Linked DNA regions of Homo sapiens: regions 2 and 3 are each linked to region 1. Evidence: promoter capture Hi-C in 16 types of primary human blood cells and fetal thymus (Javierre and others, 2016). All regions are on one chromosome and are shown on one strand. Each heading gives the region's core, a stretch centred on a gene start or on the middle of the fragment in contact. The rest is flanking DNA. Distances are from core to core; before and after follow the strand shown. Region 1 holds the start of NMI (N-myc and STAT interactor). Region 2 holds the start of PPIG (peptidylprolyl isomerase G). Region 3 holds the start of SPOPL (speckle type BTB/POZ protein like).

The links. The method cuts DNA at HindIII sites, captures the fragments that hold promoters and counts their contacts. A CHiCAGO score of 5 or more calls a contact.
Region 2: the fragment with the promoter of PPIG here is called in contact with the fragment with the promoter of NMI in region 1 in 1 of 17 cell types (total CD4 T cells); the score reaches 7.2 in total CD4 T cells.
Region 3: the fragment with the promoter of SPOPL here is called in contact with the fragment with the promoter of NMI in region 1 in 1 of 17 cell types (total B cells); the score reaches 7.9 in total B cells.

The regions. Positions count from the first base shown.
Region 1 is chr2:151,287,899-151,291,307 of GRCh38, forward strand. It overlaps NMI (N-myc and STAT interactor), which reads right to left and starts at 1,770. Exons shown (of 8, transcript NM_004688.3): 1 at 1,695-1,770. RefSeq lists enhancers at 319-488, 1,289-1,338, 1,359-1,408, 1,799-1,878, 1,939-2,358 and a silencer at 1,539-1,738. The HindIII fragment of the contact is 4,870 bases long and covers 1-3,409 here.
Region 2 is chr2:169,582,866-169,586,274 of GRCh38, forward strand. PPIG (peptidylprolyl isomerase G) reads left to right here and starts at 1,486. Exons shown (of 14, transcript NM_004792.3): 1 at 1,486-1,625. RefSeq lists an enhancer at 1,402-1,451. The HindIII fragment of the contact is 789 bases long and covers 1,211-1,999 here.
Region 3 is chr2:138,500,034-138,503,442 of GRCh38, forward strand. SPOPL (speckle type BTB/POZ protein like) reads left to right here and starts at 1,737. Exons shown (of 11, transcript NM_001001664.3): 1 at 1,737-2,086. It overlaps SPOPL-DT (SPOPL divergent transcript), which reads right to left and starts at 1,662. Exons shown (of 2, transcript NR_187149.1): 1 at 1,286-1,662; 2 at 1-847. RefSeq lists silencers at 1,633-2,172, 2,373-2,422. The HindIII fragment of the contact is 5,215 bases long and covers 1-3,409 here.

The sequences.
Region 1 (3,409 bases), core at 520-3,019:
TACATTTCAGAAGACAGAAACTGCAATGTTATTTAATTGCTTTTTATTTTTATTATTGTGACAATGCCAATATTCCAAGAGCCTGTAATAAAGGCTCTCAGCATAAATGGTCTACTATCTAACACCACCAGAACCCTTTTGGCATCTTTTGCATCTGGATACTTTTGCTCTATGCATGAGTGGGATGTATGGTCATTCCTTTTATGCAATCATGTAGTAGGCAAAACAATGGCTCCCTCAAAGATGTCCACATCTTAATCCCAAGAATCTGTGATTATGTTAGTTTATATTGCAAAGGAGAATTAAGGCTGCAGATTGAATTAAGGTTGCTAATCAGCTTGCTTTTAAATATGGAGAGCATCCTGGATTATCTGTGGGAGCCCAGTGTAATCATGAGGCTACTTAAAAGTGAAAGCGGAAGACAGAAGAAGAGTCAAGAGTGAAATGTGACCCCGGAAGAACTTTCAGAGGCGCAATGTTGCTGGCCCTGAAGATGGAGGAAGGGCTGCTGAGCCAAATAAGGTAGGTGGCCTCCGGAAGATGGAAAGAGGATTCACCCCAAGAGCTTCCAGAAAGGAAGGCAACCCTGCCAACACTTTGATTTTAACCCAGTGAGACCTCAGTAGGACTGCTACAGAATCCTAAGATAGTAAATTGTGTATGTGAGTGTGTGTGTGTGTGTGTGTGTGCGCGCGCGCGCGCGTTCCTATGTGTTTAAGCCACTAAAGCCATGTAATTTGTTATGGCAGCGAATTAAAAAAACTGATACAAATCAACATCACCGTATTTCCGTAATACAATCATATAACTGCGGTGCCAGGCCGTGTAGAATCGAATCTTCCTATATGCATGCGTGGCAGCAAAAAGAAAGGCAATAGAACGTCTGCCTGTTGTACAGACTGGAAACACAGTATTCTCCTTCGGATGTCTCCTTCAAGAAAAACCTTGCCTATTCTGACACGCCAGCCATGACTGCACAACACTGCCCCTACCAAGAATCGTTTTCTTAAGAAATCCGTTTTCCTAAGGACTATCTCCAGAGACACTCGGAGAAAACAGCGAGGGCCGGGCGCGGTGGCTCACGCCTGTAATCCCAGCACTTTGGGAGGCCGAGGCGTGCGGATCACGAGGTCAGGAGATCGTATCCATCCTGGTTAACACGGTGAAACCCCGTCTCTACTAAAAATACAAAAAAAAAAATTAGCCAGGCGTGGTGGCGGGCGCCTGTAGTCCCAGCTACTCTACTCGGGAGGCTGAGGCTGGAGAATGGCGTGAACCCGGGAGGCGGAGCTTGCAGTGAGCCGAGATCGCGCCACTGCACTCCAGCCTGAGCGACAGAGCGAGACTCCGTCTCAAAAAAAAAAAAAAAAAAAAAAAAGAGAGAAAACAGCGAGGAAACACAAATAACTTTATGTTTCAATTTCCTCAATGAAGCAAAGCAAACAAGTGACAAGGCTCGAAGCCCTGACGGCCCAGAGACTGCACAGCGGGCCCAGGAGCAGGTGCGCCCCCTCGAAGGCGGCGTGGCCTCCGCGACTCGGCTGCGGGCAGCTCCCGGGGAGCAGGGTCTCAACTCCGGCGCTGTCCCACTTCCGTCGGCGCTGAGGGCTCCCACCTCCCTTTCCACCCCCGGCTCTCCAGCCCGGGACTGCCAGCGGCGGGAGTGGCAGCCGGGGAAGGGACTCCCCACTCACCCGCGTCCGCCCGCCGAGCGCAGCTCCCCAAGGCCCAGCGCGCCTGCCCTTCCCGGAAAACAGCAGCGCCTGAAACGCCGGAACCCCGGGAGGCACTGGGAGGGGAAGGCCCGGGTTCTCGAAACTGTCGCTGCCTCCTGCAGAAGCGCCGCGGGAGAGCTGCGGGGTCTTCCTGAGGAGGTGGCCCTCGCAGGAACAGCTGGGTTCCCCGCGAAAAGAAAAAGACAGTGAAAAAGAAAACTGCTTTAACGGCGATTTTTCTTTAGCATTTAACCAATGCTCAAATACTAAACATGGTTGTCTCCAATGATTAGTCACTAACAGAAAAAAAAACTAATTTCACTTTCGATTTTTAAAAAGGGGTGGTTTTGCGGAGGAAAGCAGAAGTATACCTGAAGTTTCCGTACACACTAATTTTAGGGAACGCTTTCTAAAACCAGTTTTTTGCATGTATTTTATAAGGTATGTTGGAAAAGTGGATAGAAACCAAATAAAGTCAAAGCAGGAATCGCTCTTCATCAGATTGTAACTCTTTTGTAATTTCTTAGTCATTGTAACACTAGTTGACAAATGTTTACAGTCAGCACAAGATCGGCGTTTCTGTGTCTTTTGTAACATCCCCCGGGGCCATGAAGTTGGGAAAGCTGTGGTGTTCCTGTTGGTTTCTGTGACCCATGTCCCTTGAAAGTTTTCTTATAATCTCTTGTTTTGTTGTGGAGCTTGTAAATAAATACTTCACTAGGTGTGAACTTTTCCTTTGAAAATTCAAACATCTGGTTTATTTCAAGAACTGCAGTGTCTCTTAATCCCACACAAAGAACCACCCCACAGCTGCCCCGGCTCATAAATACAGATGTGGGAAGAAAATGAGTCAAAATTATTTCAAGGCATAAATTATAGGTTATCATGCTACCTAGTCACATATAATAACTGATACAGTGGTCTAAAATAGTTTAACAAAAGTAAAATTTCTTTGTATCAAAAAGGTTGATGGGAACCAGTTTAAAGTGGTGACATTTCTCTTTTTTTTTTTTTTTTTTGAGATGAGTCTTGCTCTGTTGCCCAGTCTCCAACTCCTGAGCTCAAGCAGTCCTTCCACCTCCACTCCCAAGTAGCTGGGATTACAGGAATTCACGACCGCACCCAGATTTTTTGTACTTTTAATTTGGGTGCTGGGGGCAGGTATCTAACTGTTTCCCAGGCTGATCTTGAGCTCTGGCCCAAGTGATCCCACCACCTCAGCCTCCTGTAAAATGGCATTTCTAAGTAAAAAAAACGACTTCTTTGTGCTTATCAGACCAGTTAGAAAATACAAAAACTCCTTCTGCTGCAACTTGAGAAAGAATTACTTTAGTTTTACCTTGAAATTTTAGAGGGAATATGAACTCTCGAGGTTATTTAGTTGAACCTCATTTCTTCTTATTTTTATTTTTTACAAGAAGATACTAAAGGACAGGACCATGGCCAGAACAGGACTAACTTAATATATTGACTCAGATTCTGTTTAAAAGGCAAATGATACAGGTGGAGGGGAAGTCTTTTTGGACACCTACATTCTAAAGCTGAGACATGTACTAACAGTCTGAATTTAACTCAGCTTCAAATCTGGTATTCTGCAAAGTGTTAGAGATCTGAAGATGAAGAGTTGGCTCCTGGACATACTATTAATAATTGTAATTGCTAACATCTACTAAGAACTCCTGGACATTTTATAA
Region 2 (3,409 bases), core at 236-2,735, about 18 Mb after region 1:
TGAACATACATATGTGTATGTCTTTATAACAGAACAACTTATATTCCTTTGGGTATATACCCAGTAATGTGATTGCTGGGTCAAATGGTATTTCTGCCTCTAGGTCTTTGAGGAATCGCCACGCTGTCTTCCACAATAGTTGAATTCATTTAAACTCCCACCAGCACTGTAAAATGTTCCTTTTTCTCCACAACCTCACCAGCACCTGTTATTTTTTGACTTTTTAATAATAGCCATTCTGACTGGTATGAGATAGTATCTCACTGCGGTTTTGATTTGCATTTTTCTGATGATTGGTGGTGTTGAGCTTTTTCATTATGATTGTTGGCTGCAAGTATGTCTTCTTTCGAAAAGCGTTGGCCGGGCGTGGTGGCTCACACCTGTAATCCCGGCACTTTGGGAGGCCAAGGAGGACGGATCACCTGAGGTTGGGAGTTTGAGACCAGCCTGACCTACATGGAGAAACCCTGTCTCTACTAAAAATACAAAAAATTAGCCAGGCCAGTCTGTGGCCCAGGGGTTGGGGACCCCTGTTTTAAGGTATTGCAGAATTGTCCCCTCCACACACAGCGAAGTGTAAATCCGTTTAATCTCTGAACTATCTAAAGATGAATATGCTGCTGCTCTCCTGCAATAAAGGGCAATGACTTAAAAGAGGTGGGGGTGGAGAGGCAGAAATGTCCTCTGTTTTACTGCTGTGTAAAACTGGTCACGCCCCTTAGAAGCACCACCACATGCCTAACTGTTGTTGATAATTAATTTACCTGATGCAAGTGAGTGAAAAATTTAAATGATCATAATTTACGTTGCCTTTAAACGACAGAACAATTTAAGTCCTCTAGTTAGCTAGTTCCTTTAAAACACACCCCACATCCCTACCAGAATCACTGCCCATCCCCCCCCACCCCCCCGCCCAAACAGCAATGGTTATTTATTTCTAACATAATCCGGGGACCCTTGCCCCTTAAAATAATTAAATAATATATGCCATATTTTCTCTAGAAGGCACTAGATTTGGCATCAAAAGACTTGCTTTGGCATTCAAGAACAGTGTGTTTGAGGAGGAGGCGTTTATCTTCCCTGAGCCTCAATTTCTTTATCTGTAAAACAACAAAGAACATCAAAGCTCTTTGTAATTTCTTCCTCTTTCCTCAAATAACACTTTGCTCATTACTGCGTTTTTAGAACTTATATCCTAGCGTTAAGTGGAAGCTTAACTGGAAGCTCCATGAAGGTAGGCCTTCCTTTCTGATAACCTAGCGTAAGATCAATAAATGTTTATTAAATGAGGCACTTTACTTCACAAAGGATATGGCATTTTAACGGTTACAAGCGTTCCCAGTCAACGCATCCACAAAGCATTAGGCCACCTATAAACTAGGAATTTAAAAGGCACCAAAATCCTAGAAGTCCTAGGAGGGCGTGGTGACGCAAGCAGGTGAACGCTGGCCGATGCTGACAACCCACTCCTGACGCGCTTCCGGTGCGACGCTGTCTCTCCATGCCAGGACTGAGTTGTGGGGGAGGGAGGCGGTTAGCGGGCTTTAGCGCCTTTTCTGGCGGCGGTAGATTTGAAGCGCTTCAAAGGACCGGACCCAGAGAAGAGGAAAACTCTACCGGTGCAGGTAAGTGGTATGAGGCTCAAGTTGTTCTGGCGGCGTCATTTCAGCAGTCCCTGCGTACGAAAGCGGGAAGGGCCTGGGAAGAGGGGCGGAGCCGGCGCGGCTGACCGGGTTGGGTTTACCGTCTTTCCCTCGAGGTATCGGGGCTGCTTGGGCCCAGAGGAAGTCCCTGAGGACCGCAGCAGTGCCTTTGCCGCTGTTGCAGAAGGAGAAGGCTTGCAGTCGAGCCCCGGGGCCTGGGGACGGTCCTTCCTCTGCCAGCCCCCGCCCTCCCCACTCAGGCGCACACCTCCCTCACTGACGCATTTTGCCGCACAAGCTGTAACATGGCGGCAGCGACTGCGGCCTGAACTCTAGGGAGCCGGGTTGATTTTTAAAGCTTCAAAATCCTAAGACTCAGCACTGTTGCGGGGTAGGTGGCGGGACTGGTGGGGAAGGGGGAGACAGCCTGACGTCCTGTCAGGCTAGGGTTGGAGAGTGACGGGCGAAGAGCCTGAATCACAGGGATTAAAATTGAAGACTAGCTTTCCTCCTCTTTCGACCTTTTCCTCTCACAGCACAGTGGCTGTCGTGCAGTTAAGTGGCAGAGGCCACTTTGTTAAGCATTTTTCTAAAACTCAAGTCCAGGGTCTTGAGCTCTCGCGAAGTTCCCCCGTGTTTCGGAGGAGCTGTGAGCTGCGCAGGCCTTTTAGGAGGAGATAATTACTCTTTAGGAGGAAGATGATGATTTCGGGGCTCAGTATGCCTGAAGGGGAAGTATGCTAATTTGGTTCTTGGTTAGTCTTTTTTTTTGAGACGGAGTCTCGCTCTGTCGCCTAGGCTGGAATGCAGTGGCGCGATCTTGGCTCACTGCAACCTCCGCCTCCTGGGTTCAAGTGATTCTTCTGCCTCAGCCTCCCAAGTAGCTGGGACTACAGGCACGTGCCACCATGCCCGGCTAATTTTTTGTGTTTTTAGTAGAGACGGGTTTTCACCGTGTTAGCCAGGATGGTCGATCTCCTGACCTCGTGATCCGCCCACCTCGGCCTCCCAAAGTGCTGGGATTACAGGCGAGAGCCACCGCGCACGGCCAGCTCATGTTTAGTCTTAAGGAGCAAAGTCTAGATGTGCTGGCAAGGAGTATGCACAATCGTTTTGGAAATGCTATAAAAGCACCATTTTGTGCATTGATTTTAATTTCTTTCCACGATAGCCCTTTCTGTGTGTAACCAACATTTTGCAGTAGTGAACACAAATACAAAAGTATTTGCTTTTATAGTTTGGTACTAACATAGTTGTCCAAAGAACAATTAGATGTTTTAGAAATTAGGGGGGCCTGATATTAACTTTCAGTAGTTAAAACCAGGAAAAAAGAGTGAGTGTGTGTGTGTGTCGGTCACACACACGTTTTTGTCTTTGTGTATTCCCATTTGGTAACAGGATGGCCGGTAATTGCTACTTTGTAACAATGACGGGTGGGGGGGTGAACATTTTATAAATTTTGAAATCGTGCTATAAAATCCAGAAAAGATACATTTAGAATGGCTGCTTCTCTCCTGTTTTTAATATATCCTGAAAATTTACCCGTTTTAGCACTCCCCTTTTTTTTATGTTAACGAGTTGGGACAGAATTATTTCTGTAACAAATTACATGGTTCTGTGTCTTAAACAAGAGTTCATTGTACATTGTTTGACTATTTCTTTATGATTCAGAATTATTGATGCTCTGAGATCCTATAGGGTCTTGTAGTAGGATTCTGCGCATTTGAATTGTTGGTTTCCTTTTTAAGGCTTTTCTAGGCAGTCAG
Region 3 (3,409 bases), core at 487-2,986, about 13 Mb before region 1:
TCTTAAATAAGTCAACAGGATTGCTAACGTAAGGTCAGGTGCTAATCCCAGCATTTTGGGAGGCAGAAGTGGGAGGATCACTTGAGGCCAGGAGTTTGAGCCCAGCCTGGGCAATATGGTGAGACTCTGTTTCTACTAAAAATACAAAAATTAGCCGGGCTCACGCCTGTAGTCCCAGATACTTGGTGGCTGAGGCACAGAATTGCTTGAATCTGGGAGGTGACCCAGGATCGCGCCACTGCACTCCAGCCTGGCGTACAAAGCGAGATCCTGTCTCAAACAAACAAAAAGAAAAAAGAAATAAAAAAGACAGCTAATGTAGTATTAATTTGAAATGAGGGGGATCTGCCTGTCCAGTATTCAAATCCCAGTAACCTCTGGATGAATTACTTGCCATTTCTAGTTCTTGTCGCTTAATTTTAAGATGGAAATTTCTACGTTGAAGTTTTAGAGAGGTTGTTGAGAGAACAGAGACGATACAAGTCCATGCTTAGAATACTCAGTACATAGCAAAATAATAAATATTTTCCCTCTGCCCTCTCTCTTTTCTTGGAAAGCCAGGTAAGCAATGAGAAGTTGGTTTATGGCCAGGTGTGGTGGTTCACGCCTGCAAATCCCAGCACTTTGGGAGACCAAGGTGGGAGGATCCCTTGAGCTCAGGAGTTCGAGATCTGCTTGGGCCACATAGCAAGACCTCGTCTCCACAAAAAATTAAGATTACCTGGGCGTGGCACATTCCTGTAGTCCCAGCTACGGGAGGCTGAGTTGGGAGGATCACTTTAGCCTAGGAGGTCGAGGCTGCAGTGAGCTGTGATGGCACCACTGCACTCCAGCCTGGGTGACAGCCCTGTCAAAAACAAAACAAAACAAAAATTGCTGACGTATGCACAGTTAAAGCAAAAAGAGTTGGGATCCTTGAATGACGTTCATGTCTGTTCTGGCAAAGCCGGGATTGTTGGTCCCCCAAACTTCTTTAAAGAAGTTTACTCCTGGTAGCTCGATTAAGTATCTTTGTCCCATGGCCGTGGGGAATAAAAAGTTCAGTTGTCACCCCCTTTTTAAACTAAATGTCCGAAGAGACAAGGCAATCCCATCCTCTCTTCACACATTTGTGCAGGTGCAGCTTTATTTCCCACCGTGCGGTCCCAGGAGGCCGCCTGGTCTTCTGCGCTCACTTCCTAGGCATCCCTGGCCGCCCCTCGGCAGCCTCTCCTTCTGGCCTGAGACTTCCAGCTGAGCCTCATCCCCTCCACCTGAAAACTGCTCCATGGGGCACTTCATCTACCTGGAAAGTTCTCGATTTCCAACTGGAGCCTGTATACTGCTGGTTGTGTCTCAGCAGTTATTACAGCTCTGGGCTTACAACGGGAGCTTAGCAAAAGTTCCACCCTGGCTTCCTAGACTGCTACAGCTCCAAGAAAAATCCTGTGCGCACAAACGGCCGCCGCCTTTGGCGTCTCCCGCGGATTAGACCAGTTAGGAGGTCTCAGTAGGCTTTTAGGCAGGACAAGTTTTACGCCTGGCCAAATAAGGGTCAGACTAAGCAAGGCGCCTCCGTGCGCCTAGCCAGAGCGGTGCCGGCTGCGGAACCTGCCCCGCCGGGAGCCTAGTGCCATGCAGCAGCGGCGGCGGTGGCGGCTTCCCAAGCGCGGCGGCAAATCCGGGCCCGCCCGGAAGTGCCCGGCGCTGTAGGAGGGAGCAAGGGCCCAGGAGCCGCCGCCGCCGCCGCCGCGCGCACGCGCCCTCGCGGGCTGGAGCCGGGGCTGGAGTCGTAACTCGGAAGCCGGAGCCCAGACGGGCCCGCGGCGGGGGGGTGGGGGCTGCGCGGGGGCGGGAGTGGCGGAGGTGGCCGCCCCTGGCGGCGGGTTTGTTTATCCCGGGGAAGAAGTTTAGGAGCGGGAGATAGGGAAGGAGGGCGGGTCGGGGAGGAGGGATGCGGTTCGGCGGAGGCGGCCGCCACAGGGACTTGCCGCCATCACCCCTGCTGCCACCACCGCAGCCTCGGGCTCCCAGGGCGGACACGGCCACCGCCTCAGCGGGAGAGGAGTCTCCACCAGGACTGACCGCTGCCGCCCAGCACGTCCAGGTAGGCGCCCCTTCCCCTCCCCCCAGTCCCCGCGGCAGCCCCAGGCGCTTGCTCCCCTCCCCCGGCTCTCCGTAGACCGGCGGCCTCCTGCTCGCGCCTCACTGCGCCCTCTGCTCTCTGGGTCCCGGACCCCTGCTCGGGCGGCGAGCTCCGGCCTGCTCTGGGGACTACCTCCCACGCCCCCGGACCGCCCTTCCCTCGCGCGGCGGCACCACTTTCCCCGGGGTTGCCCCCAATCCCTCCTTGATTTCCCAGCCTCCACCTTCCAGGATCCCCTTTAGTTTTACCCCCGGGCCTCGCCCCTTCTTTTCCTCTGGCTTCTCTCCTCCTCTATACCTGTATACCTCCACACCTGCCCCTTTTTACCTGAGTGCTGCCCAAAGGCAGAAACTGCATGCTCTGCCACCGCGCAGCGTCCACTTTCATACCTCCTCATCCCAAATACAGACACTTGAAACTCTCGTCCCTGTTAGCCCATTTTAGGCAGAGTTCTCAGCTTCGCAGACCGCTCACTACCTCCAGTCCGGTGGTCATGCCTTTAACCTCTCTTTAACCTGCTTTCTAATACATTTTTGCTCACTTATACCAGAGTACATCAAGCTAACCGCGCGGTTCGGGGTCCAAGTCTTCAAAGAGCCCACTTGTATTCCTGCTGCTCTCCTTTTTCCTAATTCTTTTTGAGTCAATGTATTTGTATATTGATTCAACATAAAAGAAAAGGGAAGGTAGCATTTTCTCTCTCAAAGCAGTCACACAACCCAGTAGAAATAAGATTCACCATCTGCTTATCCTAACTTTCGCTTGTCTCTTTCCTGACTGAACTCTGTCATTCAGTGATTCTTTCCAGGCTTCTGATGCTTTGTCTATTTTTGAATAATCTTGGGCCTAGTTTGACCCATTGTGGTACTCACTTTCCCACTTGCAATTGAATCCACTGTTTCTTGGACTAGAAACTGACAGAGGTAAAAGGTTCATACCTTGAAAAATTACATCTCTCCTGCCACGATGAGATTGGTGGAATATTTCAAATTACCATTTCATCATTCTTGTGAGAAATGTTGCCTAGTGGTTAAGAACTCTTCTCTAGAGCTCAGACTAGTATATAGTTGCCAGGGTGTAAACCCTTGCTCTGCCATCTACCAGCTTTGGCTTTGGGGAAGTTACTTAATATTTCTTCGCCTCAGTATACTTACAGCTGTAAAATGGGGTTATGATATGACATCACAGGATGGTGCTAGTAATTGCACAAGTAAATACAAGTAAAGTACTTAAAACAGTACCTGGCACAGGGCAAATATCTGATAAATGCTATCATCACTTCTT